6 separate regions of the Homo sapiens genome follow, and regions 2, 3, 4, 5 and 6 are each linked to region 1. Evidence: promoter capture Hi-C in 16 types of primary human blood cells and fetal thymus (Javierre and others, 2016). All regions are on one chromosome and are shown on one strand. The core of a region is centred on a gene start or on the middle of the fragment in contact, and the rest is flanking DNA. Distances in the headings are between cores, read along the strand shown. Region 1 holds the start of STAMBP (STAM binding protein). Region 2 has its middle 7.0 kb from the start of MTHFD2. Region 3 overlaps MOB1A (MOB kinase activator 1A). Region 4 overlaps MOB1A (MOB kinase activator 1A). Region 5 has its middle 18 kb from the start of BOLA3. Region 6 overlaps TET3 (tet methylcytosine dioxygenase 3).

Region 1 (4,839 bases), core at 1,820-4,319:
ACAAAAATTAGCCAAGTTTGGTGGCGAGCACCTATAATCCCAGCTACTCAGGAGGTTGAGGCAGGGAGAATTGCTTGAACCTGGGAGGTGGAGGTTGCAGCCGAGATTGTGCCACTGCACTCCAGCCTGGGTGACAGAGCAAGACTTCATCTCAAAAAAAAAAAAAATTAGCTGCTGTTGTAAGAATGCATTGTAGTAGGTAAGAATGAACGCCCTTCCTGTACTAATGCAATTGTCCCTCTAGGTATGTCACTTAACACAAGAGTACCAACCTTGCAAGTGAAATACACCTAGAGTCTTCCTTGTTTTTACCCTCCCTGACCCCCGAACTCCGCTGGGTCTGTATTTTTCCTTTTCTTCTTTTTGCTTTTTAGCAATAGGAGTCTCACTATGTTGCCCAGGCTGGAATGCAGTGGCTATTCACAGGTGAGATCATAGCACACCACAGCCTTAAACTCCTGGGCTCAAGTGATCCTCCTGGGTTTTTTGTTTGTTTTGTTTTGTTTTGTTTTTTTAGAGGTCTCACTCTGTTGCCCAGGCTGGAGAGCAGTGGTGTAATCATAGCTCACTATATCCTCGAACTCCTGGGCTCAAGCGATCCTCCTGTCTCAGCCTTCCAAAGTGCTGGGATTACAGGCGTGAGCCAGCGCACCTGGTCCAGGCCTGTGTTTTCTAAACCCCGATGTTACATTTCAGATTAAGAACTTCACCTTCTAGGCATCTTTTGCTGCTGCCCAAAAATGAGCAAGTAGGAATGAGCATGCAGGAGTGCAGGAGACCTGACGTTGGCATATGCAAGCGGCCAGATGGAGGCTGCTATATTCAGGAAAAGTGTTCATGGCTGGGAGTGAGCACCGGAAGGAAAGAGCATCTCAATTCCTAACCTGGTCTAGTCTGCCAGGTGAACTGCTGAAGCCTATTTGCTGAAGGAATACCTTCCACGCTTAGCCTCCAATCTTTAGGGCAGGGGTAGGTAGGATATTCTCATCAGTTATGCCAAGAATCTTTTATAGCTTTGATTTCCTGATTGTGTATACAAAATTGTTTAGTTTTTAAACTTTTCCAGTTAAACAAGAAATGAGGAATGTAAAATTTTTACCTTGGCCAAGATTTTCTTATTTCAGGTCCCTAGAAAGCTGAGTATTGAACTTTGCCCCAGATATCAAAAACTCTGGTCAACATTTACAAATTCTCTCCCTAAAAAGACTAGATCCTGCTTCCTATATTCACTTAGCTATTACCTTAAGAACTGCTAGCAACTGGGCATATTAACTTTCTAATATCAGGAACAGCCTCTATGTGGCGCTAGCTATGTTTACGACTATGCACACCCCTTATATGTGTGTCTCAGTTATAGCTTCTTAAAGTCTTCTCATCATAATCTTAAAATCTAGGATGTTTGTAAATTTTCTTTACTTGTTAAGCTAAACATTATAAAAAAAAGAACTACTTTAGAGATTGTGCTGAATGGGAGCAGATGCCCCTCCCTACCCCACCAGCTGTACTTCTACCTGTGCTTCCACCATTAGAGTATCCACCTGCTGGGTTTGTTTGCTGATGTATCCCTAACACCTAGAACAGAACCTGGCACATAGTAGACACTCAGTAAACATTTACTGAGTGAGAGGTTGAATGGATCAGATTTTGACCTGTGTTGCCTCCTGCCAGGACCCCATCTGCACTATAATGCCCACCCAATGACCAGCATCTCCAGTGCATCAATTTCTTTAGGCCCAACCCATCATGTTTACATTCTGAAGAGAGTCAGTAGAGAGAGTTTTGAAGACACAGTAGAGTGCCCTATACAATTATCTTCCCAGATTTATCTGCAGTAGATCCATGAGAGTTGATAGTAGACCCATGCACATTAATGCTTGCTGGGGGCAGAAGGGGAGGTGATATGATGCAAGCAAGTACTTTCAACCCTAAGTCTGAAAAGTTGATGACTACACAAAATCACTTCAGGTAACTCCAACAGAAATATACACAACGGAGGTTGGGAGAAATGAGAGATCTGGAGGCTGGCTAGGTGGAGGAGGCAACACCTGAATTAGGGATTTAAGCTAGACCTTGAAGAATAGGTCATGCCATCACACTAACAAACTCACAGGGAGGCTCCCAAATTTTGGGAAAGTGTCCCCCAGAGACTTAGACTTTTAAACCAAAGCCTAATGTTTCACAAAGTCTTCTGAGACAGAATGATTAGCAAGCTTGTAGGACCTTTTTGTAAAGAGGATGTATATGGATTCGTACAGACACACATCTACATGCAGAACGTGCCATTCTGTATTTGATGCATAAAACCACCTTGTCCCGGTCTCAGGGCAGGAACAGTGTCATACAGATTTTTGTGTCTCCACTGCTTTTGCATAGCGGCTCTTAGAGATTAAACGCTTTTTTTCCAAATATTTTATAGGTTTTTTGACATTAAAACGTTAGTCTCATCTGGGTGCGGTGGCACACGCCAGTAATCCCAGTACTTTGGGAGGCAGAGGCAAGAAGATCGCTTGAGCCCTGAAGTTGGAGACCACAGTGAGCTATGATCACACCACTGCACTCCTGTGACAGCCTGGGTGACACCGCAAGACCCTGTCTTAAAAAAAAAAAAAGTTAGACTTATGTTCTTTTCTAAGCAATAAAATTAGTCTTAGATATTGCCTAATATCTAAGACTACCAATTTTTGTGTAGAATGTAATACAAGCTAAAAAATACATTCGAAAGACTTTCTGTCCCCCAATTTATAAATCCTGGTTAGTTTAGCTAAGTCTGCAGTTGTGCTGGGATCAGCAATCCCTCCTTAAATGCAGGAGTATTGTGAGTGTGATGAGGGACTACCCCAAATCAAAATAATTTTAAAAGCAAACCTTAGCTTGCTAATTGGTTCCACTTTCTTCCTTGTTCCTTTTCCTTTACCAAGATGGCCGCTGTGTCGTTCGCTCCTCATTGGTCGGATTTTCCGCAGGTGCCGATTCTAGCCCCACCTACTAGCTCTCCGTTCCAAGTCCTAAATCACTGGGAATGTAATAGACAGACGAACGGGAGTGGGCGGAGCGGGCGCCGGATGTGACGTTTCCGGAACCTCCGGGTGTCATCCGCGGGGAAAGGTGGGGAAGGGTCCCGGGAACGTGGTGGGGCAGGGCCTCCGAGCGTGGTTGGACTTTGAAGGGGATCGGCCGCCGTGAGTGTGGGGCCTGCAGCCTACTCTCCCCGAGTCCCCTGCCCGGCCTGCCTCGCTCGAGGCACCCGACGGCTTCTGTCTCCGCGGGCTGGCGCCTGACCAGCCAGGCCCAGCGGTTCCCCGCCTACTGCATTTGAAAGATCCCGAAAACCCTGGATGATTGTGCCTGGGGTTGGCAAGTTCGTCTTGAGTGCCTTCAAGAAGGGTTCCTCAAGCAGTTGTCGATAGAGCCCTCCCTACTGTATACGCCCCCTCCGCTCATTCCTGCTACTTCCTTTCTCCTCCTCGTATTTCCCCCTCGGTCCTTTACGCCGCCTTTCCCCCTCATTTGCAGATGCTGCATCCCCTTTTTGGAATTGCTCAACCAGGTGGTAACCGGCGCCGCTTCCTGGCCTTGGGAGGTGGTTCCTTTCTTAACCCACAAGAACCTCTCCCAAGAGGTACTGAGATGCAACAAGCATCCTCTGTTTCAGTTAACTTTCATGGGCCGTGGACTAGGTTTACTAATTACTTGGGGAGGTTTTAGATATGCTTGCGGCTTTCTGAGTCCCTAAGGAGGCCTCGTGAGAGATGGACTATCTCTGCATCCCTAGTAGTCCTCACGGCTTTTGTGCTATTAGTGAGGGTGTTTTAGAGGGGAAGGTTTGTGGAGGAATTGTGACCCGAATATTGAAGAGACCTAAAGATGGAATTGGCTGAGAGAAGACTACCCCTGAGGGAAGAGTTGTAGTAGAAAAGAAAAACTGGATAGATAAATGAAACTGAAATGTGAGGATGCCTGGGCGGATTGGAATCCTGACTGAAGCAAAAGATCTCTGTTGGGGAGGGCCAGTTGCCACAGGGCCTTGAATTCCAAGATTTATTCTACTGTAGTTTGTGTATTCTAGAGCATACTGATTAGGGTTTGCTGTAATGCAATGTGTGTCAAATGCCCAGTTTTATTTTGGAGATGATAGTGGTGATATCTGGTTGGAATTTGGAATCTGATTCTAACAGCAACTATATCTAGAAAGACTAGAATTACTGGAGTTTTGGGACACCAGGGGTTTTTGCAATGCAAGTTACCATCGTGCCTTTTTGTTATTCAGTGTTTAGTCTATGAAGATGAGTAAATGGTTGTTTTCAAGATTTAAGTCTCTTGCCATGATAATGATGAATGAATGATTTTATAGATTGACTATAGTGGTTTAGTGAGCAGAGTTACAATTATGAGCATTAATTCCCAGACCAGTTCCCCTAACTCACCTTGTGCTCAAATATGAAAAAGGATACCACAGAAAATGTCAGTTACTCTCAGATTAAGTAAAAATGGTCAACCTTGAAGTTAGTTAACAATCCTCAAGAAAGTTCACTGAGTGCACTCTGCCAGGTACTGGGGTGGAGGTATGTGGGTATCTGGAAGGAGAAATAATAGAAAATAAAAGATGCTGTTCCCACTTTTACAGTGCTGTGGGCGGAGCCCCCTAATGGCAAAGGATTTGATTAACTTGAACTGAACCTTTGGTTGGTCCACTGTGGTTCTACTCCTTATACCACCTAATTATGGTACAGGGGTTGTATGTTTTCTAGTCTGCCAGTACTCTCATCGTTGTGATTTGGGCTTCCTTGAGGGTCTCAGCCTTCTTGTAGGAAAGTCCTTATTTAATAGGAGCCACAGCAT
Region 2 (4,839 bases), core at 1,619-4,118, 360 kb after region 1:
TGTGTTGCCCAGGCTGGTCTTGAACTCTTGGGCTCAAGCAATCCTCTTGCCTTGACCTCCCAAAGTGCTAGGATTACAGGCATAAGCCACCACACCCAGCCCAAAATTTTCATAGATGGCAAAAATTTAATAAGAGTTGTTTGGTTTTTAAAAATTAACGAATAAGTTAAATTTATTCTGTCACCTCCTTAATTTCACAGAGTGAAATTAAATTCACTCTGTCACCCAGGCTGGAGTACAGTGGCATGATCTTGGCTCACTGCCTCCTCCACCTCCCGAGCTCAGGTGATCCTCCCACCTCGGCCTCCTGAGTAGCTGGGACTACAGGTGCACACCACCACACTCAGCATGTATTTCTATTTTTAGTAGAGACAGGCTTTTACCATGTTGCCCAGGCTGGTCTCGAACTCCTGGGCTCAAGTGATCCGCTGGCCTCAGCCTCCCAAAGTGCTAGGATTACAGGTGTGAGCCATTGGGCCCAGCCAAGAGTTGTTTTAGCAGGCAAAAAAGAAGAAAAAGGAGGAAGAAAACAAAGAAGATGGAAAAGAAGGAAAAGGACGGGGAGGGAAGGGAAGGAGAGGGGAAAGGAGAAGGGGAGGGAGAGGAAAAGAAAAAGGTTTGTTAGAGTGTAACCTTCAGTACGAATCATTTCCTTAAGTCTTCTGTGACCTTGTCAGGGGTTCCTTCTCCTGCATTCTGGCCAATGTGTTCTGCCAAATGCCCTGTCTTCAACCAGAACTAACAACAGTACTAGTTAGGTTTTGTGGATGAACATGGATTTTGGATGAAGACAGGCTTATATTTAATCCTGGCACTGCCATTACTAGCTGGTGACCATGGGCAAATTACTTTCACTTTGTGAATCTGTCTCTTCTTTTTTAATATAGAGATAATATGATACAGTATTGACCTCACAGGAAGGTTAGCATTATGAATAAATGTAGGGGAAGAATCTAGCACAGTGCCTGATGCATGATTAATGGTCCATAAACGTAGTGCCCTTATTCCTCACCCTTTGACTCCCTATCCCTTTTTCTATCCTGTTAAATAAGTAAGATTTCCTTACTTTTCCTTGAAATTAGAAGAAAATCTCTTTGCATCTACTTAGGTGCCACATTGACTCCTCCCAAATCCAGAGGTGCCCCTTAAACTGAAAGCACCCCTAGTTCAAGGCAACAAACAAGAGTTGAAGAGGCACCTAAGCCCAAATTCTCAGGTCGGAGTTCTCCAAACACGGGATCCTTAAGCAGCTGCCTTTCATCCCCCTTGGTTCATGAAGATGTACAGAGGGGCCCTGTCACTGGCAGCATAATTGCTTGAACCCAGGAAGTGGAGGTTGCTGTGAGCCGAGATCGTGCCACTGCACTCCAGCCTGGGTGACAGAATGAGACCTCAATCTCTGTCTAAAAAAAAAAAAAGCCTGGGCGTGGTGGCTCACTCCTGTAATCCCAGCACTTTGGATGCTGAGGTGAGCAGATCACGAGGTCAGGAGTTCGAGACCAGCCTGACCAACATGGTGAAACCCCGTCTCTACTAAAAATATAAAAATTAGCTGGGCGTGGTGGCGTGCGCCTGTAATCCCAGCTACTCAGGAGGCTGAGGCAGGAGAATCACTTGAACCTGGCAGGCGGAGGATGCAGTGAGCTGAGATTGCGCCACTGCACTGTAGCCTGAGTGACAGAGCAATACTCCATCTCAAAAAAAAAAGATATGTTTGGTCATTAATGTGCTGTCTGCTTGCACACTAAAGATGAATGAGATGAATCATGAGATATAAATTGCCCTGGTTAAATAAGCCTACATCCACTATTGTTGAAGATAGACAGGTGCACAAACAACATCAAGATGTTCTTAGAGTTGCAATAGGAGTATTCCTACATGCTACAATAGCCCAGAGGAAAATGCAATTCATTCTGTCTGTTTTGTGTTGCAGCAAAAAGTTTATTTTGCCTATGTGCGGTCCTGATTCCTGGTTATGTGTCTATGAAGCATTCAGACTCACTTAAAGTGGAGGACTAGGGGCCAGGTTTTTAAGTCAGGCAGGGTAGGGGTACAGGGAGCAGAGAAAGGAGTGTAATCAAACACCATGCAGAAGTGCAGGGTATGCTTAGAGTATAGAGGGCAGAGCAAAGAAAGACGAGGCAGAAAGACTAGCTGGGGTGGGATATAGACAGGCTTGAGCACCTCCACCTCACAGAATTTGGACTAAAATTGGGGCAAAAAATATTTTTGTTAAACAAAAGAGATTTTATTTTATTTTTATCATTATTTTGAAACAGGTTCTTGCTCTGTCACCCAGGGTGGAGTGCAGTAGCACAAGGTGCATCCCGGGATCAAGCCTTCCTCCTGTCTCAGCCTCCCCAGTAGCTGAGACTGATACAGGAGGTAGAAAGAAATTATTTAGGCAGATAGTGAGGGCAAATGAGTCCTCAGCAGAGCTTCCTTTCTAACAAAAAGCAGCCCAAGAAATTAGTTTTCTCCTAACAAAAAGTAGCCTGAAAAATCTAGCTGCAAACATAGGTAAGCAAGCTGGAACATTGCACAGGGGAATGCTGGCAGCTGTGTCAATAGAAAAGGGGTACCTGGGGGCCAGGCATGTCCATCATGGAAGCTTCATCTTCCTTTTTGTTAGCACGTGTACAGTAAGAAAGAAGTGGGCAACATGGCACAGCTTAGGCTGAAAACCCGCCTGCATAATAAAATACTGGGGTGGGGGCTGCCAGAAAATCGTGCCCCATGCAAATGGCACACCTGGTCCTAACCAGCTTTTTGTGCCCTACGTAGATCAGACACAACTTTCCAACCAGCTCATCTATAAAACCTTCTGCATTTCACCGTGGGTCGACAACCCATTTTTCTGGGACCCCTCTCTGTAGCAGAGAGCTATTTTCTTTCTTTTGCCTATTAAACTTCCTGCTGTTAACCTCACTCTTTGTGTGTCCATGTCCTTGATCTCTGTGGCTGTGAGACAATGAACCTCAGGTTTTACCCCAGACAATGAGGCTGCTTCAAGACTACAGGTGCATGCCACCAAAGCCAGCTAATTTTAAAATATTTTTTAAAGACAGAATGTGAACCCAAAATATTTGAGATAGGTCTCAATCTATTTAGAAAGTTTAGTTTGCCAAGCTTAAGCATGCACCCATGATACAGCCACATCAGAAGGTCCTGATTACATGTGCCCAAGGTGGTCAGGGTACAGCTTACTTTTATTCATTTGAGGGAGACATGAGACATCAATCAATATGTGTAATATGTACATTAATTCGGTCCCAAAAGATGGGACAATTCAAAGTGGGGAGTGGTGTGGGGAGGCTTTTACGTCATAGGTAGATAAGATACAAAAGGCTGCATTCTTTTGAGTCCTTGATCAGCGTTTCACTGAATACACAATTTAGTCTGGCTCAGTGAATCTGCATTTTTACATAAACAATAGGGGAGGCCGGACACAGTGGCTCACGCCTGAAATCCCAGCACTTTGGAGGCCAAGGCGAGCAGATCTCCTGAGGTCAGGAGTTCGAGACCAGCCTGGCCAACAGGATGATACCCCATCTCTAGTAAAATATAAAAATCAGCTGGGCATAGTGGCGGGCACCTGTAATCCCAGCTACTCGGGAGGCTGAGGCAGGAGAATCACTTGAACCCAGGGGGCGGAGGTTGCAGTGAGCTGAGATCACGCCATTGCACTCCAGTCTGGGCAACAAGAGCGAAACTCTCTCTCAAAAAAAAACAAAAACAAACAAAACAAAACAAAACAATAGGGCAGAGGAAGCAATCAGATATGCATTTGTCTCAGGTAAGCAGAGGGATGACTTTCTGTCCTGCATCTGTGAAGATCATCTATCAATTTACATTGCCAGGATGAAATTCAACAGAACTGTTTTCAGGTAAAGATCTTGAGACCCACAAGGAATTTCCTTGTGGGCAAATTGTGAGGAAGATATGCAGCTTTCTTTTTTTTTTTTTTTTTTAATCTTTGTAGCTATCTTATTGGGGAATAAATTGGAAGGCAGGTTTGCCTGACATAGTTCCCAGCTTGACTTTCCCCTCAGTTTAGTGATTTTAGAGTCTGAAATTAATTTTCCTTTCACAGGGTGTCACTATGTTGCCCAGGCTGGTCTCAAACTCCTGGGCTGAAGTGATCCTCCCACCTTGGCCTCCCGAAGTGCTGGGATTACAGGTGTGAGCCACCATGCCCAGCCCATTTCATTATTATTATTATTATTATTATTATTATTATTTTATTTATTTTTATTTTTGGGACAGAATCTCGTTCTGTTGTCAGACTGGAGTGCAGTGGCATGATCTCGGCTCACTACAGCCTCTGCCTCCTGGGTTTAAGCGATTCTTCTGCCTCAGCCTCCTGAGTAGCTGGGACTACAGGCATGTGCCACCATGCCCAGATAATTTTTGTATTTTTAGTAGACATAGGGTTTCACCATGTTGGCCAGGATTGTCTCGATCTCTTGACCTCATGATCCGCCCGCCTCTGCCTCCTAAAGTGCTGGGATTACAGGCGTGAGCCCCTGTGCCCGGCCGAGACAGAATCTCTGTCACCCACACTGGAGTGCAGTAATCCAATCATAGCTCACTGCTGCCTCAACCTCCGGGGTCAAGTGATCCTTCCATCTCAGCCTCCCGAATAGCTGGGACCACAGGTGTGCACCACAACGCCTGGCTAAGTTTTTTATTTTTTTGTAGAGATGGGGTCTCACGATGTTGCCCAGGCTGGTCTTGAACTCCTGGGCTCAAGCAATTCTCCCACCTCAGCCTCTCAAAGCACTGGGATTACAGGCATGAGCCACCCTGTTAGACTATTTAGCCTGTTAGACTATTTAG
Region 3 (4,839 bases), core at 1,130-3,629, 340 kb after region 1:
AAGAAGACAGGATCCAAAGGCCAACGATAAATGCTACAGAGAAAAGGCAAAGTCATGAAGAGTTGGAAGTAGTCAGGGGGTACTTCCTGAGGGAGCTTCAGCTAGATCCAGAATAAAATGGAAGAGGCAGGGGGTGAGTAAATAAACTTTACTGAGTGAGTATACTCTATGCAAAGAGAACCACATAAGCCTTGGAAAGTTTCAAAAAATGTTTTAGGCTAGGTGCAGTGGCTCACGCCTATAATCACAGCACTTTAAGAGGCCAGGATTTGAGACCAGTCTGGGCAACACAGCTAGACCCCGGTCTCTATTGAAAATTTTAAAAAATTAGTTAGCCATGGTGGCACACGCCTGTAGTCCCAGCTACTCAGGACGCTGAAGTGGAAGGATCCCTTGAGACTAGGAGTTCAAGGTTGCAGAGAGCTGTGAGGGTACCACTGCAGTCCAGCCTGGACAACCCTGTCTCGAAAAAATAAATAAATAAAAAGTTTTAGTCTCCTGTCTAAAGAAGTACCTAAAAACAACTAGGTATTTTCCAAGTTTCTTAAAAAACAAATAGATTTTTTTAAAATGCTATCTTGTAAAAGGAATTTTATACAAAACTCCCTCACTTATAAATCTTCCTCTTAGTCATGTTTCTAAGAAAGTAACACTTAGGTATTCAATATTCACTCAAAACAAAAAATATGCCCAGGTGGAAGTTGGTTTGGTCTAGAAGAGCTATTCTCAAAACGTGGTCCAGGAATCCCCTATCTGAGGGAGGATCTGTAAGGTCAAACCATTTTAATTGTTCTTTTCACTCTTACTCTCTCAAGAGGGCACAATGGTGTTTTCCAGAGGCTCCATGATGTGTAATATCACAACAGACTGAATACAGAAACGGATATAAGAATCCAGGTGTCTATTAAGCCAGACATTAAATAAGATTTGCAAAAATATAAAACAATGCCATACTTCTCACTAAAATTTGTTATGGAAAATAGTCATTTTTCGTAAAAACATATTTATGGTAACATGTAATGGGTTTATTATTGTTATTTTAAAATGAATTTGGGCCGGGTGCAGTGGCTCACGCCTGTAATCCCAGCACTTTGGGAGGATGAGGCAGGCGGATCACTTGAGGCCAGGAGTTCTAGAACAACCTGGCCAACATGCCAAAACCCCGTCTCTACTGAAAATACAAAAATTAGCCGGGCATGGTAGCACATGCCTGTAATCCCAGCTACTCTGGAGACTGAGGTGGGAGAACTGCTTGAAGCCAGGAGGCAGCTGCAGTGAGCCAAGATCGTGACACTGCACTCCAGCCTGGGCGACAGGGCGATACTGTCTCGAGAGAAAATAAAAAATAAAAATAACTATTTACATCTTCTCAGTTTTAATTTCCAACAGAGTATCACGAGATATACCCAATATAATTAAAAGCTCTTTGGGGTTCTCAATAATTTTTTTTGTATTTTTTGTATTTTACCTTGTTTTTCCCCCGACTGGGTCTCACTCTGTTGCCCAGGCTGGAGTGCAGTGGTGCGATCTTGGCTCACTGCAACCCCCGTCTCCCAGGTTCAAGCAATTCTCCTGCCTCAGCCTCCTCAGTAGCTGGGATTACAGGTGTGTGCCACCACACCCAGCAAATTTTTGTATTTTTAGTAGAGCTGGTGTTTCACCATGTTGCCTAGGCTGGTCTCGAACTCCTGACCTCAAGTGATCTGCCAACCTCAGCCTCCCAAAGTGCTGGGATTACAGACATGAGCCACCATGCCCAGCTTGTATTTTACTTTTTTAATTAACACAGAATGGTACATATTTATGGGAATCAATAATTTTTTAAGAGGGTAAGTGGATCTGAGACCAAAAAATTTGAGAACTGCTGATCTACAGCAGTTAAGTCTCAAAGAAAAATCTAAGGCTGAAGGTCAATAAATGACTTCAGAATAACAGATGATAATCTGAATAAAGTTTTGTTTGTTTGTTTGTTTTTGTGTGTGTGTGTTTTTTTAAGATGGAGTCTTGCTCTGTCGCCCAGGCTATAGTGCAGTGGCACAACCTCAGCTCACTGCAACCTCCACCTCCCGGGAAGTGATTCTCCTGCCTCAGCCTCCAAGTAGCTGGGACTACAGGTGCGTGCCACCACACCTAGCTAAATTTTTGTATTTTTAGTAGAGATGGGGTTTTACCATGTTGGCCAGGATGGTCTCAATCTCCTGACCTCGTGATCCGCCTGCCTCGGCCTCCCAAAGTGCTGGGATTACAGGCGTGAGCCACCATGCCCGGCCCTGAATAAAGTTTTTTAAAAAAGGTTTTTTTTTGGCTGGGTTTTTTCCAGCACTTTGGGAGGCCATGGTGGGTGGATTACCTGAAGTCAGGAGTTCGAGACCAGCCTGGCTAACATGGCAAAACCTCGTCTCTACTAAAAATAGAAAAATTAGCCAGGTGTGGTGGCGGGCACCTGTAGTCCCAGCTACTCAGGAGGCTGAGGCAGAAGAATCACCTGAACACAGGAGGAGGAGGTTGCAATGAGCTGAGATCGCGCCAGCCTGTGCGACAGAGCAAGATTCCATCTCAAAAAAAAAAAAAAAAATTAGCAGGGCATGGTGGTGTGAGCCTGTAGTCCCAGCTACTCGGACGGGTGAGGTGGGAGGATCACTTGAGTCCAGAAGTTGAGGCTGCAGTGAGCTATGATCATGTCACTGCACTCCAGCCTGGGCAACAAAGCAAGACCCCATCTCTGAAGAAAAAAAAAGAGATTCAAGAAGCATACACACAGGCCTCTTTGGATCCTGATTTAAACAAAGCATAGATTTTTAAAGCAAAAAAATTTTAAAAAGAAAACATTTGGCCAGGTGCGGTGGCTCACGCCTGTAATCCCTGCACTTTGGGAGGCTGAGGCGGGCAGATCACTTGAGGTCAGGAGTTCGAGACCAGCCTGGCCAACATGGCAAAACCTCCTCTCTACTAAAAATACAAAAATTAGCCGGGCGTGGTGGCGGACACCTGTAATCCCTCAGCTACTGGGGAGGCTGAGGCAGGAGAATTGCTTAAACCCGGGAGGTGGAGGTGGAGGTTGCAGTGAGCCAAGATTTCGCCACTGCACTCCAGCTTGGGTGACAGAGCAAGACTCCATCTCAAAAAATAAAATAAAAAAAAAATAAAAAATAAAAGAAACATTTATGGGACAGTCATGAAAAATGTGAACACTGACCAGATATTTGATAAGTTAAAGGAGGATGGCATTGTCATTATCTTTACAAGTTCTTGTCTTTTAGACATACCTTACTGAAATATTTATAGATAAAACATCATGTCTGGGATTTGCTTAAAATAATCAGGGTGACATATAGAAGAAGAAAAATTGGTCACAAACTGATATTTGTTGGAGCTGGGTAATGGAATGAATACCTGGAATTCACTGTACTTAGTCTACTTTTATATGTTTGAAATTTTCCATTAAGAAGTTTTAGGCTGGGCGTGGTGGCTCATGCCTGTAATCCTAGCACTTTGGGAGGCCAAAGCAGGCAGATTGCCTGAGCTGAGGAGTTCAAGACCAGCCTGGGCAACATGGTGAAACCTTGTCTCTACTAAAATGTAAAAAATTAGCTGGGTGTGGTGGCGTGTGCCTGTAATCCCAGCTACTCAGGAGACTGAGACAGGAGAATGGCTTGAACCCGGGAGGTGGAGGTTGCAGTGAAGCAAGATTGAGCCATTGCACTCCAGTCTGGGCAACAGAGCAAGACTCCATCTCAAAAATAAATAAATAAATAAATAAATAAAAAGTTTTAAACTTTTTATTTAAACTTTTTATTCCTGGAACATCTGAAATCTCTAATTTAAACTTTATTACCCAGAAATGATATCATCTCAGAAATGAGAGACTCTCACATTCAAATCTCTAGCCTTAGCATATTGTCCCATGTCATGCACTTGTTCTCTTGAACTTAAAGTGACTTTCAGCTCAGATCCCTCCATTTTCTCCCAATCTCTCAATTCCCTCTGCCACTCTAAGTCACAACAATCAACTGTCCATATGAACTGCAATTGACTTTTCTGGATATGCAGGCTGATGAGTACTGCTGGGAGTGGAAGTAAAACTGTAGATGGATTTGCTACAAAGTCACAGACCACAACAGGCATAATCTTTTCATTTATCAATCTTTTATCTGACCTTACTCAGCTTTTCATACTATTCTTCTTAGAAATTGCCCAAAAGCACTCATCATTTCTCCTCAGCTCCCTCTACTCAACCTCACAAACTACCACCTAGTACTCTGAAAAGAGCAACATAGCTTTGGATGTATTTGTACTTAATGTTTCTTTACAGATAATTTGTTATATTAAAACAGTTCTAACTGTAAAAGAAAATTCATTAACAAAGAGATTTTAGCAAAACCTTTCTAGAAAACAGCAAAGTTACATTTTAAAACTTACTGTTCACAGCAATCCATTCATTGAGATCCTCTCCCTCAGGCAACATAACAGCTTGTCTCAGATTCCCACTTCCTAGAGTTGCTTCTGCATGTTTTAAGAGTTCATACTGATGAGATCCTTCAGGGATATTCTTCTTTGGTTTGAATGTTTTAGAAGAGCGGCTGCTGCTGTAAGATTAAAAGTGCAAGTATATGAATTTTTAAGACTGGAAGTAGAACAGGTAGAACAACATAATTTTAGGTATATAAAGTAGCCTGTAAAAATAAAATAAAAAATACTCTCTGGGCCAGGCATGGTGGCTCATGCCTGTAATCCCAGCACTTTGGGATCACCTGAGGTCAGGAGTTCAAGACCAGCCTGACCAACATGGTGAAACCACACGTCTACTAAAAATACAAAAATTAGCCAAGCATGATGGCG
Region 4 (4,839 bases), core at 1,346-3,845, 320 kb after region 1:
GAGCCATCTGAAATGAAAACATTTAGGCCGGGCATAGTGGTTCATGCCTGTAATCCCAGCACTTTGGGAGGCTGAGGCAGGCGGATCAGCTGAGGTCAGGAGTTCAAGACCACCCTGGTCAACATGGTGAAACCCCATCTCTACTAAAAATACAAAAATTATCCAGACATGGTGGCACATGCCTCTACTCCCAGCTACTTGGGAGGCTGAGGCAGGAGAATCGCTTGAACCTAGGAGGCAGGGGTTGCAGTGAGCCGAGATTGAGCCACTGCACTCTAGCCTGGGCGACAGAGTGAGACTTTGTCTAAAAAACATAAATAAAATAAAATGAAATGAAAACATTTGCTACTTGAAATCCTTCAGATTCCCCATCGCCTACCTACAGGCAAAACTCTCAAGTTCTTTTGTATGATTTAACCACTATCTACCTGTCCAACTGAAATCTACCCTTCAGTAATATTATACTTGCACCTCCCTTCATAAGCTATGCTACAAGTTTGGTTATGCAGTTGCCCACCTTTTAAGGTTCAAGCCTTGTCTTCTCCAAAGAGCCACCTCTGACTGCCTCACAGTAAGCTTAGGGCCCGCAACTTACCTGTAACTTTTGTTGCACTTATGGCCTTTTACAACTATCAATTTATGTATGTGTCTGTTCTCACTGGTTTATAAGCTCCCTGAGGACAGAGCCTTGCTTGAGTCATCTGTCAGCAGCCCAATATGGGACAAAAAGTGCATGCATTGTAATTACTGAACAGAACTGATAGAGGCTCAGCAATTTGCGCTCCATAGGTCTAAGTTTGAACTTTTCTAGAAAAGGATTTGCAGGACGATCTGACGAATCTTGGGCTTCCAAATTAGTTCCAACAGTTCTAGTATTTTTTTTTTTTTTTGACAGAAGCAAATAAGTAAGTTTTACTTTGTGATTAAAACAAAAGTGAAATGCATTTAGTCCCAGGAAATGTCAATCCTTTCTGCATCTTACTTTTTTTTGCTGTGACCTCGAGATTCTCTTGTTCTCTTCAGTTGTATTGGTCCATGATCACTCATAGCTTTCATACACATATATACATCTGAAACTCAGAAAATTCATTAGGTAGGAACTCTTTGGATGCATCTCCTTTTTTAACCTCATTGGGATGATTTTTCGTTGCACCATCATTTTATAGAGCTTCCTAGCACTGCTGAGCATGCAGAATTTTTGCAAATGCAATCCAGAGAAACAGACTTGCTATATACTAGCTATTTGAACTTGTCTGAGCTTATGTGGCATGGTCTAAAGAATACTGAAATATTTCTGGCATACCTCTTAATTGCAGTCACTTTCTCCAGGTTGCTTTATGGATTAAATGAGATAACCTACTAAAGGACTCCAGTAAAAAGCTAAAAAGGTAGCTAGCTTTTGAGGTGTTGTGGCAGACTGGCATCTAGTGGCCAGCGATAAAGGTGCAGACTAGTGTCCACACCTAAGTGGGGACAGTGCAGGCTGTAATGTCCATACCTAGTGGGGACATCAATGGGGTATTTGTCAGAGAAGCTCCATGGCATAGTTTGGACATTGTTTCTGGCTGTGCAGGTTCAAACCCAGAGTCTGGCTCTCCCAAAGATTATCTGAGTTATTCTATTATTTTACAAAGTTTGAAATAGCCATTAGATACCCTTACAAACTTATCATTTTTGTGATTGATTTTAAGTCTACTGAAAATGTCAAAAGAAATCCAAAACTGATTGCTAGTAACTAGGCCAGGTGTGGTGGCTCACACCTGTAATCCCAGCACTTTGGGGCCGGGGCAGGCAGATTGCTTGAGCTCAGGAGTTCGAGACCAGCCTGGGCAACATGGCAAAACTCCATATTTACAAAAAATACAAAAAATTAGCCGGACATGATGGTGTGTGCCTGTTGTCCCCGCTACTAGAAGGCTCAGAAAGAAGGATCACTTGAGCCTGGGAGGCGGAGGTTGCAGTGAGCCAAGACTGTGCCACTGCACTCCAACCTGGGCAACAGAGACCCCAGCTCAAAAAAATAAAATTAGTGTTAACTTGTACTGTTTAGCCACATTCATTAAGTTTTTAATTTTAACTCTACTATCGCACAACCAGGAATGTACAAGAGATCTGGAGCCTGATTTGCATGGCAGGAAGGAGACCACGTATTTTTGTTTGGGATGGGTTTTAGCCACTATCAGAGACATAGTTTGTTTCTTAGGGGTTCGGTCCCAGTAGTATGATACTTAGTTCATTTAGGAACTTCCTTTTTTAACGGCTAAGAAAACATTTTAGCTACTAAATGATATGCAAAGATAACTTTCCAAATTTAAGCTGTACTCAAAAATCCACAGAATCTGCAAAACTCTCAAGTTTCTATATTTAAATAGAAATGTGTGTTGATATACATACTTTAATCAGTCATTTCTTGCTTTCAATATATTTTATTCTGACGAAGTTACAAAAGTAGATACAAAATACTTTTTTTAGAAGTACAGTTAACTGACTTAGAAAAATAGATAAAGCCCCTAAGGATTTTAAAACACAACATAAATTTTTATGTAAAGAACATTTAAAAATATTTTAGATGGTAACCAAAACTAACTTACACAAACTATTTTTGATGTAGAATAGAATGCTGTTCTATAATAAGAAGTCTGTAGCACACTGGTAATCCATTTGGATCTACAGAATACTTGTTTGGAACAGAATCTGATAATGAGAGAAAACTCAAATGAATGTCAGTGCAGTTGCTTCAAAAAAATTACTGCTACCACATGTACTATCATCCCCCAAGGCCTTTTACAGTCTGAAATATCAAAATTGAAAGCAAAAATAGGATGACCAAAGGACTACTATTTTACCTCTTTTCAGAACTCTACAATAGTAGAAACTAAATTCCCTTATGGATCTCAGGGGGAAATAATGTGCCTGTTGAAGGGGCTCAGTGTTTGGTGTCCAGGCTGGCATTTTTCAGGTGAGGGTTTCATACTGACAGGAGGCAGGCTCCTAAAACAAGGCGGTAGCACCAGCACCATGACTAGGGCTGCTTTAAAACAAATTTCTAGGACTTACGCTCTTTGGGCCTGATTTGTTAATGCTTATGAGGTAATGATATTATGTTTGAGAAGCTCTACTTCTAGTATACCTCAATGCTCAGAGAGAAAGCCAACAATACAATCAGGAAACCACAATATTGACAAAACTTAGTACTACCACCAAGATTGTTCCTCTTGCCTTGGCACTACTAAAAAACTTTACCTTTGTTACTAAAGTCATGGTGAATACAGATTTTGCATTTCTCATGTAAGCAGCTATATAAGCTAGGGTTCTACAAGCCTTAGATGAAAGGAAAAACTTTGCTGGAAGCCCTGTAAAAATCACTTTATTCACAATCTGAAGAATGAAAGACAAATTTGGCTGTCAATACAAAAACTGTAGTACAAGGAAGTTCAACTGTTTAAAAATCTGCACATCACTGTACAAGTGTTTTTTGAAGGCCTGAAAATTAAAGCACCATAGGATTAACTGCATAATTTAGCAAGCACTCTCTACCCCATGACTGTAATCATGTATGAAGAGCAGAGATCAGACACTGAGAGGAGATGGCTTCTGATTAGCAAGGGGGAAGGGAGTGAGTGTTATGGAACAGGCAAACCTTGGGCATGGGGAGATAAAAGTGAGAAGAGTCAAAAAGATTGATTTCTATAGGCCGGGCACGGTGGCTCATGCCTGTAATCCCAACACTTTGGGAGGCTGAGGCGGGCGGATTGCGAGGTAAGGAGATGGAGACCATCCTGGCTAACACGGTGAAACCCCATCTCTACTAAAAATACAAAAAATTAGCCAGGCATGACTAAAAATAGAAAAAATTAGCTGGGCGTGGTGGCGGGCACCTGTAGTTCCAGCTACTCAGGAGAGGCTGGGGCAGGAGAATGGCATGAACCTGGGAGGCAGAGCTTGCAGTGAGCCGAGATCCCACCACTGTACTCCAGCCTGGGTGACAGAGTGAGACTCTGTCTCAAAAAAAAAAAAAAAAAAGATTGATTTCGTCAAACTGTTATCAAAGGTTGGCCCTCTAGCCAACTCAGGAAGGCGCCATCCTCTTCCCATTATCTCCCCTTCCTCCAATTCTCCTCCTCCCCTTGGCTCCCTAGCCTTGGAGGTAAACACTAATATTTCAGTGCACTGTTGGTTAAGCCAGATTGGCTTGGGAACCTGGTAATGTTTTTATTTTTATTTTAAAAAAGGACAGTCTTGAGTCTCAAAATACCAACACATCTCTGATTTATGTCCCATTTATAAGCTGCCTTTACTACTGTCCTGACATGTGATCGTCTTTCATTTGCTTTGGAGCTTAGTGGTGAAGAGAGGGAACATTTCCATAACTGAAAATAAATGGAGAAAAGTGGTAACTCTTTTGTTTGAGAATATTTGAAATACTAGAAATAATGAGGAAAGTACAAGCCTAGCTGAGAAACTAGTTTCATCACTTGTGGACTTAAAAAAGTAAAGCTAACAGGGTTTAAAGTTGAGAGGCAGTTCACATCCTAAGTGATACCTAGAAACCTGCTTTCTTGTTCGCAAATGATCAACATGAACATACAGAATGGCTGACATTTGGACCTTTGGATAAGCTTAAAACATGGATTGTGGAATGTCTAATAGAGGGCTTTTCTCTCTTTTTTTTAATAATGACTGTCCCACACTTTAATTCCTCAATGATATGTGGATGCTAACTAAATCAGATGAAATGTTTTCTTTAAAATTCTGTATATATTTAAGAATTTCTAGGAAATGATTATTTAAAATGGAGTTTCTAAGTAATTATTTTCTTTATAGTTTAGTGGAGTAAGA
Region 5 (4,839 bases), core at 1,388-3,887, 300 kb after region 1:
AACTACCCAAGAAAGCAAGTTAAACACTGTAAAAGCCTAAAACGGGGCAAGTTGGGATTAGCTTTTAAAATGCCTGCCTTGAAAAACACATTATTCTGTGAGGTTTTTTTTTTTTCTTTAAAGTTGTGCAAATTTGATTCGGAAAAATAGCTTAATAGGTTTGTATAGGGCACGGGAGAAGGGGTTGTGTGCATAAATGTATGATGATTATTTTAAGTGTGTGCTTCAGCAGCGACAACAAACAGATGAAGATACGTGATACTGACTAAACAGGCAAGAGTATTTTCTAGTCTCAGTTCTTCTAGTCAATGCCTAAAGTATTAGAAAAAGTACTGAAACAATTCCCAAAGCATCAGGAATTTCCATTTCTAGTCAAAATATTGTTTGTTTTCTTCCAACAGTTCTGTTAAATAAAAGGAAAAGTTATAAAGTTTTAGAGATATATTTAATGTCACAGGTTAATAATGTGTGTATAGAAGCCTTCTCTAACCTTGTTTGTAAATCTACCAAACCTCACCTCAAACAGTGTTCTCCTTAAACCCATCCTTTTTGTGCAAAGCTACTGCTTCCTGATGTCCATAACTCAAGGCATTTTTTTTTTCGCTTGGTGTAGTTTCTGAAATGTGATTATTTAATGTTTGCCAAGATGTTTGGAATAGAGTAACTTTCAACTAATCAATTGATTGTGACTTTCTTCTTTTGTAGTTTTTGTTTTTAAAATTGCTTTCTGTCAAACCCATCTATAATTCCCCCAGAATATATTTATATGGACTAAGGCTTACCAAAAATAAGGAAAATCGGAGAAACTGCCACCGCCAGGAGGAGCCAAGGGGACATGATGACTAAATGTAATCTGGTTTCATGGAGGGGCTACCTAGAAAAAAGACATTAAGGGAAGACTAAGGAAACTTGAATAAAGTATGGGCTCTCCTTAATAATAGTGTAACAAATTCATTGTAACAAATGCCCCATACTAACGTAAGATGTGAATAATCAGGGAAACTGGATGTGGGACATATGGGAACTCCACTATCTTCAAAATTTTTCTGTAAATGTAGAACTGTTCTAAAACAATAAAGACTATAAAAAAATAATAAAGACTATTAGAAAAAAAAAAAGGCTGGGCTTATGCTTGTAATCCCAAGACTTTGGGAGGCCAAGGCAGGAAGATCACTTGAGGGCAGAAATTTGACCAGCCTGGGCAACATAGTAAGACCTCAACTCTACAACAACAACAACAACAACAATAAAATAGCCAGGCATGGTGGTGCACACCTATACTCCCAGCTACTTGGGAGGCTGAGGTGGGAGGATCAGCTGAGCCCCAGAAGTCAAGGCTGCAGTGAGTTGTGAATGCACAACTGCACTTCAGACTGGTTGACAGAGATCCTGTCTCAATTTAAAAAAAAAAAAAAAAAAAAAAAAAGGCTGGGCATGATGGCTCACACCTATAATCCCAGCACTTTGGGATTAGTGCTGGGATTGAGGCAGGCAGATCACCTGAGGTCGTGAGTTTAAGAACAGCCTGACCAACATGGAGAAACCCCATCTCTACTAAAAATACAAACTTAGCTGGGCATGGTGGCTCATGGCTCATACCTGTAATCCCAGCTACTCAGGAGGCTGAGGCAGGAGAATCTCTTGAACCCGGGAGGCAGAGGTTGCAGTGAGCCGAGATTGCACCATTGCACTCCAGCCTGGACAACAAGAGTGAAACTCCGTCTCAAAAAAAAAAAAAAAAAAAAAAAAAAAAAAACCCGGCCGGGCACAGTGGCTCATGCCTGTAATCCCAGCACTTTGGGAGGCTGAGGCAGGCAGATCACCTGAGGTCAGGCGTTTGAGACCAGCCTGGCCAACATGGTGAAACCTCGTCTCTACAAAAAACGCAAAAATTAGCCAGGAGTGGTGGCAGGCACCTGTAATCCCAGCTACTCAGGAGGCTGAGGTGGGAGAATTGCTTGAACCCAGCAGGCAGACTATAGTGAGCCAAGATCGCACCACTGTGCTCCAGCCTGGGAGACAGAGCAAGACCCTGTCTCAAAAAAAAAAATGAATTGAAAAAACCTTAAGGGCATTACTTGAACATCAGTTGTTTTACTCTTTTATGTGATCATCTTTTGTGCCCCCAATGACTTTTTTGTTTTTATATCTTCCAGAGAGAGGCAGGAGTCTGTTGTTACACTCACACTGAATTCCCTGGTGGCTGCTTTATTGGCTTTAGGCCAGGTGCAGTGGCTCACGCCTATAATCCCAGCACTTTGGGAGGCCGAGGTGGACGGATTACCTGAGGTCAGGAGTTCGAGACCAGCCTGGCCAACATGGTGAAACCCCATCTCTACTAAAAAACACAAAAATTAGCCGGGCTTGGTGGCAGGCACCTGTAATACCAACTACTTGGGAGGCTGAGGCAGGAGAATGGCTTGTACCCGGGAGGCAGAGGTTGCAGTGAGCGGAGATTGTGCCACTGTATTCCAGCCTGGGAGACAAAGCAAGAGTCTGTCTCAAAAAAAAAAAAAAAAAAGTTGGCTTTAGTATAGACACTTGGGTTCACAGTTTTGTTTGACCATAGTCACTATGGTTGCTTAGTCTTATTGCAAAAGAAAAGAACCCGTCGGGCATCTTTTAGGTGTACTCTCATCTGCCACCCTAAACACCTTTTCCTTACAGAAAAAATAAATTACACAAATGCTCTTTTAAGTTCACAGCCACAGGGTATCTTACCAGGAGCTAAGAAATGAGGTCAGCTTCCTGGAATGAGGTGCCTAAGGGTAGAGCTGACTCCTAGCATAGCCCGACCAGCAATATTAGCGCCAGTGCAGGTACAAATGTTGGCTGATTGGGCAGGGAGTGGAGAGGCGGTGAGCGTGCAAGAGTGCGCGCTCTGCGGGTTGCGCTCCTTTTGGTGGCCCGAAGAAGGCAGCTGGAGCTCACAAGCCACTGCTGGCGGACTTGAACCGAGAGTGAGTGTCTTATGTAAGACATTTCTTGCAGAGTCGTGGCGAGGAAGCGCGGACTAGGGCGCGCTTGCTGCTCTCCAACAACGTCTGGACCCGGGGATCGAGGGCAGCGGAACCCCCTCCCGTCCCTCCATCTCCACCTTCTCTGTGCTTGGGTGCACCCTGTGGATACAGCCGGCCTGAGGGACCGCAGACTCGTCGGGCTGCTTTCTGATGAGAGGATTAACAAACAATTGCCGGCTGCGACCATTTTGCAGGACAGGCATCTTCTGCGCGCAGGCCACGTCGGGCCTGCCCGGGCTCTGGCTGCCTGGAAGTGCTCCCGCTGTTCACCCCGCGGAATTAGGGGTTGGGGGGCAGTTCCCCGCAAATGGGTGAGGGGGTGGAGGCGAGGTGAATTAATGGATACGCAGTAGCCCCATCGAGGGAAAAGGGGTTGGACGGAGGGGAACTGCGGTGGGCAGGGCAGGCCTAGGGGGCTGGTAGGGGATAAAGAGGAGAGTCCCCCTGTACGGTGACTTACCTGGTCTCGGTGCCTCCGCTCTCCCGTTCCCTCACTAATGAGACTCTTAAATCTGGCAGGGACCCAGGAAGGGATATTTGTAATTATTCCAGGTGGTTCGAATTTGCAGCCAGAATGGGAATCACTGTATCTTCTTTACTTCAATGCCTGCTTTCTCTTAGCACGTTCTTGCCACAACCCTTCATTCATGACCTTCTCAGTCCATTTGTTCAGCTTTGGCCTCTCCAGTCCATTATCTCCGCACTTCCCGATTTGGATTCGCAGGTCCGTTAGCCCTGAGCGCTCCAGCAGCCATTGTCTGGTCGGTGGACTGGCTCTCCGCGGGTCATTCACTCACCTTTCCCACTCTGGATTCCCAAGAAAGGGAATTGAAACCATTGGCTCCTAACCAGTCTGTGTCTGGGTGGGGCTTTGCAGCCTCAGGTCCTCTCTCAGGTTACTGGCCACCCTGTCCCCTACACTGCTAGTTAGGTGGTCTAACCAGGGCTGAGGGGCACTACAGGAACCCAGGAACAAAATGTGCCCAGGGGAGGGCTGTGGAGCAGGCAGTTTCCCCTACACTGACTTGCCCAGTCAGCCGGCACCTCAGGGAACTTTGGGTTTTCCACTGGAAAACCGCACACTGTTTTTAAAACGACACTGAGCTCAGAAGACCTCTCATGTGAACCTAGCACTTTCCACAAGCAACACTTAATCAAAAAGCTAGGAGGTGGCTACATCCGATGCAATGCTATACTCTAGCCACTGGGATTAAACACGTTCTTCTCGTTTTCTAATCCGTCAATTAAAAAAACCTGTGATTCCTCTCCCAACTTTCCTTTTAATTTGGGGGGAAGAACAACTGGGTGGGGGGGCCCTATTTGTTTCCAGATTTAGAAGCATTTAGGGGATTACACATTTCACAAGCCCGAAGAGTTCTCTGGTTGCGGGTGGGGTGAAGCAGAAGGAAGAGTCCCCTGTCTTCTGGTGTCCGGAGGTTCCTAGGCGGCTTGGCCCACAAAGCCACACTTATCTTTTCCTCCAGTCAAGAACATCTGCTGCTTTGTCCCAGCCCTTCTTTGAAGAATAGAACCCCCTCTTCTTTTGGTAACGCCTTCTCTCTCCACTTCAAGCCAGAGTCCAGCTAGAGGCTGCAATTTTATATGCCCCCTGGACCCCACCTGGTTAGTCCAGGTGGCTCCTAATTCAAGATGAGCCAATCAGAGCCCTTCCTGGGAACTCCAAAAGAAAGTTTGCTCTTACAACGCGTTAGGCCAGGTGGCTCCTAATTCAAGATGAGCCAAACAGAGGCCGTCCTGGGGACTTGAAAACAAAGTCTGCTCTTCCCACGGCCTGAACAGGACCTCACTGTGTGCCATC
Region 6 (4,839 bases), core at 1,201-3,700, 280 kb after region 1:
TTATCTGGGGTTGATGGATGAATGGTAGATTTTTGCAATGTCTCAAGGCAATAGGATGTGTATTAAACTGTAGATATTCTTAGTACAGTAAATTTATGCTGATAATTTTATTTTGTATAATTTTTACCTTTTTGTTAATATTTTTTCCTTCCACTTTATTGGTTTGCCTCCTGAGCTACCCCTCCTTACCCTCCCTTCTCCCTCAGTGTTTCAGTAAATTTAATTTAGGGTGCCTAGAAATTGCAAGTATGTATCCTTTTTGATTTGTATTTTATTATAATTTACACAAACAACTGGGTTTGTGAACTGTATTACTCCTGGTATCTTTAAAATATTGTGGGTGTTTTAATAAATTTTATATTTATTTTTTGCACTCAAATTCAGTGTGGGTTCTCTTTTTCCCCTTCTTGAACCAGGACTGGAATGTGATGTGTCAGGTACCCTGTAACCTCACCCACCCACCGTATGTTGTAGATGTACAAATGAAGCCCTCACTAATAGCAGCAGCGGAACCTGGCCTTGTCCATTCTGCCACCTGGATAAAGGAATGTTCAGAGGCTATCAGCTGTTAAAACGGGATCTAAAGGGAGAAAATAGAGATGGCCTTTTTCTCATCTATGTTTCTCTTTTTGTTTTCTTTCCCTTTTATGTTTTTTTGTCCTTTTTTTTCTTTCCACTGGGAGATACCTCCCTCCTACTAAAATTAACTTCTGATGTTTGTTAGGTTTGCTAAAGGATCACCAAATGCTGCTTGGTTCGGATGGCTTGAACAGCAAGTCTAGTAGGGATTGGCTAATATACGGAACCCGAGATTCTGCTGACCAGCGGCAGAGGTTTCCCGCAAGATCCCATGCCTGGAGCTACCTTCTTTAATTCAAATTGCCAATTCTGGAGGTGGCTGTTCTTGAAAAGGGAATATGAATTGAGGAAGGAGGAGAGAGAATAGTGAATCTGCTTGCTCTTCCTCCTTCCTCCTGCATGAAACATCTGACTGAAATTGATCCAGTGTCTTTGAGGGACAACCAGCCCAGCTGTTGATAAGGACTTCAGCAATATCCCAACATCCCAAGTCACTCTAGGTGGGAAAGTTCATCTCTGAGGGCATCTGAGTGAAAATACCATGATCATAATGAGTGCCAGGTGATCGGCTTGGAGGTTTTTATCTCCATTTTACTTTGCTTGCAAAGGAACCCACTGGAAATGCCTTGGCACACCTGGCTATCCAGGGATCCTCAAACATGTTTATATGTTTTACAAAAGTGGGGTCACACTGTGTTTTGTAACCTGCTTTCCTCCTTGAGTTGGAAGAGACCTAGTTCTGTCCCCTTCCTGAGCGCCTGTCATGATGGATCCATCTGCAGAGCCTGAAGGGAGGGCCAGGACATTCCTCCTTCAGCTGGGGCTGGTTTCACTATTGGTTAGCTATAAATATGCTGCCATCTCTTCTTATACAAGTTCCATGTTAAATATAGAAAATTAGAAGACAGAAGTTCTTAAAAGTTATCTGAAATCCCACCACGAGAGAACCGCATATTGGTTGCAAACATTTTGAGTGTGTAAATACGACCCATATGTATTTTTTCAAATGGAATACAATAATACAATCTTGTAATCTTTTTGCACTTAAACTATCTTTATCAGTATGCAGAATAGCATCTTTTTAAATAGTTGCCTAGCAATGTTTTTAGTATGGATACAGAAGCATTTAATCATCCCTGTATCACCAAACTCTTTAACATCCCAAGTTGTTGCAATTATAAATTGAACTAATCTAAATGTGCCTCCATGTAAATCCCACTCAGTCTATTTCTTTCTACGCTGAGAAGCGTTGCAGTAAATTCCCCTCTGCCACGTGACTACATTCTTAATTCCATAAACCTTCTTGTAACAGGTCCAGGCCCTGTCCACCACTACTCCCCACCGTGCCCCCGTCTGTTCACACCTAGAGCATCATTATTCATATTGGGATCTCTAGAAATGAGCAATTTGTTCCAGATGGGATCCGGCTCATGCAAGCCAAGCACAAAGACACCAAGGAGCCCCACGATCTGGACACACTATTTTTATGAGTGTACACCAAGGTTTATTAGCTTTTTAAGCAGCGGCTTGTGGCTTGGAAAGAACATAGATCCCTCACTTCCCAATTGTGTGATTTGATGAGGGTTTCATCTCCCTGTGTCATTTTGTCAATAAGACAGGCTAATGATACCACATAAGATATAAGGATAAAAAAATTGCTACAGAAGTGAAAGTGCCAGGCATTCGGGACATAGCAAGTAATAAGAGCTATCATTATTACTCTTGACATATGCAAAGCTTTAGATCACTAAGGAATCCAAGACTAGTCTTGGGACCACATAGTGACCTCTTCAGTGAACTTTTGCCAAATCAGGTCCACTAACTCAAGTCTGCGTGCAATTTTTTTTTTTAATGCTTCACACAGCAGTTGAAATGTAGCCATCTTAAATGAACTGTTTAACCCACTCTCCCTGCCTATTTTGAATCTTAATTTTGTCAAATATTGGTTTACCCAACCCAGCTACACAACTTGGTCAGCAACTTTGTTGTGTGTTCTGATGCTCTTGTAAGCTTCTTAAGCTTGGAGAGCTGTTAGTCATCTTTGTCTCCCATTGTACTCTGAAAATAATGGGCATTCAACGTCCCATGTCCATGGGATGGTGCATCCATACATACATCATGTCCCTGCAAGGGGACATGAAGCCCTAAAAACATGTTCGACACACATAATCCAGTGTACATTCTTGTCAGAGCCATGAACACAACATAGAAGACGTGAAAGACAAAGCTTTGTTAAATTCTAGATACCCCCCAGCACCTCATCCCCACTCCAGAGGTCTTAGCAGAGGCCTGCTTTCCTCTACTGAGAAGCCCAACCCCAGGCCCAGGGAGCCTGCCCAATTTCCCTCACCACACTTCAAACCATCTTCCTGTATGTTTGTCCTCTTTACTGTACACACACCCCTGCTGCTCGGTACCCCTGACTCTCACTCTCCATGTGCACCCTGTGCTGCTCCTGTGGAACATGCTTCATCCATTAACCCTTTTCTGTGGCTTCTCCCCATCACGTGCTCTCAGGTTCACCCCAGCCTGACCCTGCTGTGCCTCATAGACCTTTCCCACTCCTTCCTATCACCACCACATATCTGCAGGTGTAGACAACCTCCTAGCTTGAAGGTCCATACCACTCACTCACCTGTACCTTTATTTCTCCAGAAATAGTCAGCTTCTGAGCCAGGGATCCTCATCCTCACTGACCTCTGTGAAGCCCTGGAAACCCTCTGCTCCCGGACTGCATAGCCAGGAACATTCCATTGTCCCAGGACCCTGCCCCCTTTCATGAGCCCCTTTGTGACCTCTTGTCCTTTAAACACAAATGCCCCCAAAAGAATCGACTCAGTCTTCTCCACAGACTATAAGCTTTCCTTCAAAGGACTTGTTCAGCCACCAGGCCTCAACTATGACCCTAATGCCAATGATTTCCAAAGCCATGTCTAGCCTCATGAGTTTGGGCTGCTGGATAGCTCTGGGTGGCTCTTTGGTAAGGTCAAAGTCTTAACCAAAACTGACCTCTCAACTCTCCACCAAATTTCCTATTCTCCCAGTCATATCCTGACACCTGCCAAGTCTAGATTCTACATCCTCAGCATTCTCAATCCTGCTTCTCTTTGCTACTTTTATTAGCAACCCACATTGTACAGTCATACAGGCTATGCACTGCACAACTCTGGGGAACACCATTCATACAGACTACCATGTGTAAGCCTTAATTACAGATATGGACTCCTCCCTGATATGGACAGAGGCATGTTGGACAAGGACCACAGTATAGCCCTCTAAAGCTGGGGACCCAGGGCAGAGGCCTCTCATATCTTGGTCTAAATGTGAGACCCTTCAGAAAGGTTGAATGGCTTGCTCAAGACCATCCAGCTAGGAAATGGCAGAGCCCAGAATCAACCCAGGTGTATTTGGTGCCAAAGTTTGTGCCCTATCCAAATATACCCCTGTTTCTTCTGTACCTTAAGACCCACAAACCCAAGGGACATTGTCCTCACTGGTGGGAATCTACCTACCTAAAGCTTAGGGCATGACCTGAGTCTGTGGGTCTATGGGCACAAGAGGCACAGGTTGCAACAAAGTGGCTCCACAGGAAGACTTTGGCTCTTCAGAGCATCTTCAACAGGTATTGTTATTTGAAAGACTTCAATTCTAGCCCCCATTTGATCTCCCTGCCCAGCTTACCAAAGCCAATCTCCTTACTCAGATAATCTTTCTAAAAACCAAATCAGATGATACTATTTCCCTGTAATACTCCTCGATACTCCCCATTTGATACAGCTCTCAGGATAAGACACATTTTAACTTTGCCGCAGGGCCCCACAGGACTTGGCCCCAGCTTGCATCTTTAGTAACACTGCAGGCCATTTGGTGTCTTTTATCTGATTATCTCCTTGGTGCACCTCCCCATGTGGCCTCTCAAATATGAAGGGTCTTCTGATGGTAATGCCAGTAATACCACCAAGAACCCACTCCTTTTATTTACTTATTTGCTTTTAAAGTATCTGTAAGAAACTAACTCCTTTTGAAATCCATTAAAACATTTACATAAACTATAAAACCGCTCCAAATAAAGAAAATTATCAATAAGAACCAAAACATCAGCAAAATTATACTCAAGGAAGTAAATAAACAGGAAACCAAGTTAACCAAGTTATCTAAAGCCAAATAAAAAGTTTTACTACATAAAAAACAATATGCAGATCTAAGGGTATAAAATTTTTTAAAATTATTTTAAAAAACAAATATTAAGAACTCAAAGAC

The links. Contacts are between HindIII fragments. The CHiCAGO score rates a contact against its expected background, and 5 or more counts as called.
Region 2: a fragment that was not itself captured here is called in contact with the fragment with the promoter of STAMBP in region 1 in 14 of 17 cell types (total CD8 T cells, activated CD4 T cells, monocytes and 11 more); the score reaches 11.6 in total CD8 T cells.
Region 3: a fragment that was not itself captured here is called in contact with the fragment with the promoter of STAMBP in region 1 in 12 of 17 cell types (activated CD4 T cells, neutrophils, total CD8 T cells and 9 more); the score reaches 11.1 in activated CD4 T cells.
Region 4: a fragment that was not itself captured here is called in contact with the fragment with the promoter of STAMBP in region 1 in 17 of 17 cell types (erythroblasts, fetal thymus, endothelial precursors and 14 more); the score reaches 24.8 in erythroblasts.
Region 5: a contact is called between a fragment that was not itself captured here and the fragment with the promoter of STAMBP in region 1, in 14 of 17 cell types (M1 macrophages, activated CD4 T cells, non-activated CD4 T cells and 11 more). The highest score is 9.2, in M1 macrophages.
Region 6: a contact is called between a fragment that was not itself captured here and the fragment with the promoter of STAMBP in region 1, in 16 of 17 cell types (M1 macrophages, activated CD4 T cells, megakaryocytes and 13 more). The highest score is 17.3, in M1 macrophages.

Annotation. Positions count from the first base shown.
Region 1 is chr2:73,825,892-73,830,730 of GRCh38, forward strand. It overlaps STAMBP (STAM binding protein), which reads left to right and starts at 3,070. Exons shown (of 10, transcript NM_213622.4): 1 at 3,070-3,619. It overlaps LOC105374807 (a long non-coding RNA gene), which reads right to left and starts at 4,507. Exons shown (of 3, transcript XR_940246.3): 1 at 4,425-4,507; 2 at 2,866-3,013. RefSeq lists a silencer at 2,841-3,059 and an enhancer at 4,567-4,839. The HindIII fragment of the contact is 5,447 bases long and covers 2,209-4,839 here.
Region 2 is chr2:74,189,227-74,194,065 of GRCh38, forward strand. No RefSeq gene overlaps it. Among named protein-coding and RNA genes, the nearest start is that of MTHFD2, 7.0 kb to the right of the region's middle. RefSeq lists enhancers at 2,887-3,613, 3,614-4,341. The HindIII fragment of the contact is 518 bases long and covers 2,610-3,127 here.
Region 3 is chr2:74,168,167-74,173,005 of GRCh38, forward strand. MOB1A (MOB kinase activator 1A) reads right to left here. Exons shown (of 6, transcript NM_018221.5): 2 at 4,420-4,586. Among named protein-coding and RNA genes, the nearest start is that of MOB1A, 8.3 kb to the right of the region's middle. The HindIII fragment of the contact is 7,349 bases long and covers 1-4,839 here.
Region 4 is chr2:74,150,188-74,155,026 of GRCh38, forward strand. It overlaps MOB1A (MOB kinase activator 1A), which reads right to left. Exons shown (of 6, transcript NM_018221.5): 6 at 2,341-4,839. BOLA3-DT (BOLA3 divergent transcript) reads left to right here. Exons shown (of 3, transcript NR_045636.1): 3 at 1-2,202. Among named protein-coding and RNA genes, the nearest start is that of BOLA3-DT, 4.6 kb to the left of the region's middle. The HindIII fragment of the contact is 4,043 bases long and covers 575-4,617 here.
Region 5 is chr2:74,127,592-74,132,430 of GRCh38, forward strand. It overlaps a transcript of TET3 not described here. Among named protein-coding and RNA genes, the nearest start is that of BOLA3, 18 kb to the right of the region's middle. RefSeq lists an enhancer at 2,551-3,164. The HindIII fragment of the contact is 7,915 bases long and covers 1-4,839 here.
Region 6 is chr2:74,107,798-74,112,636 of GRCh38, forward strand. TET3 (tet methylcytosine dioxygenase 3) reads left to right here. Exons shown (of 12, transcript NM_001287491.2): 12 at 1-379. Among named protein-coding and RNA genes, the nearest start is that of BOLA3, 38 kb to the right of the region's middle. The HindIII fragment of the contact is 273 bases long and covers 2,315-2,587 here.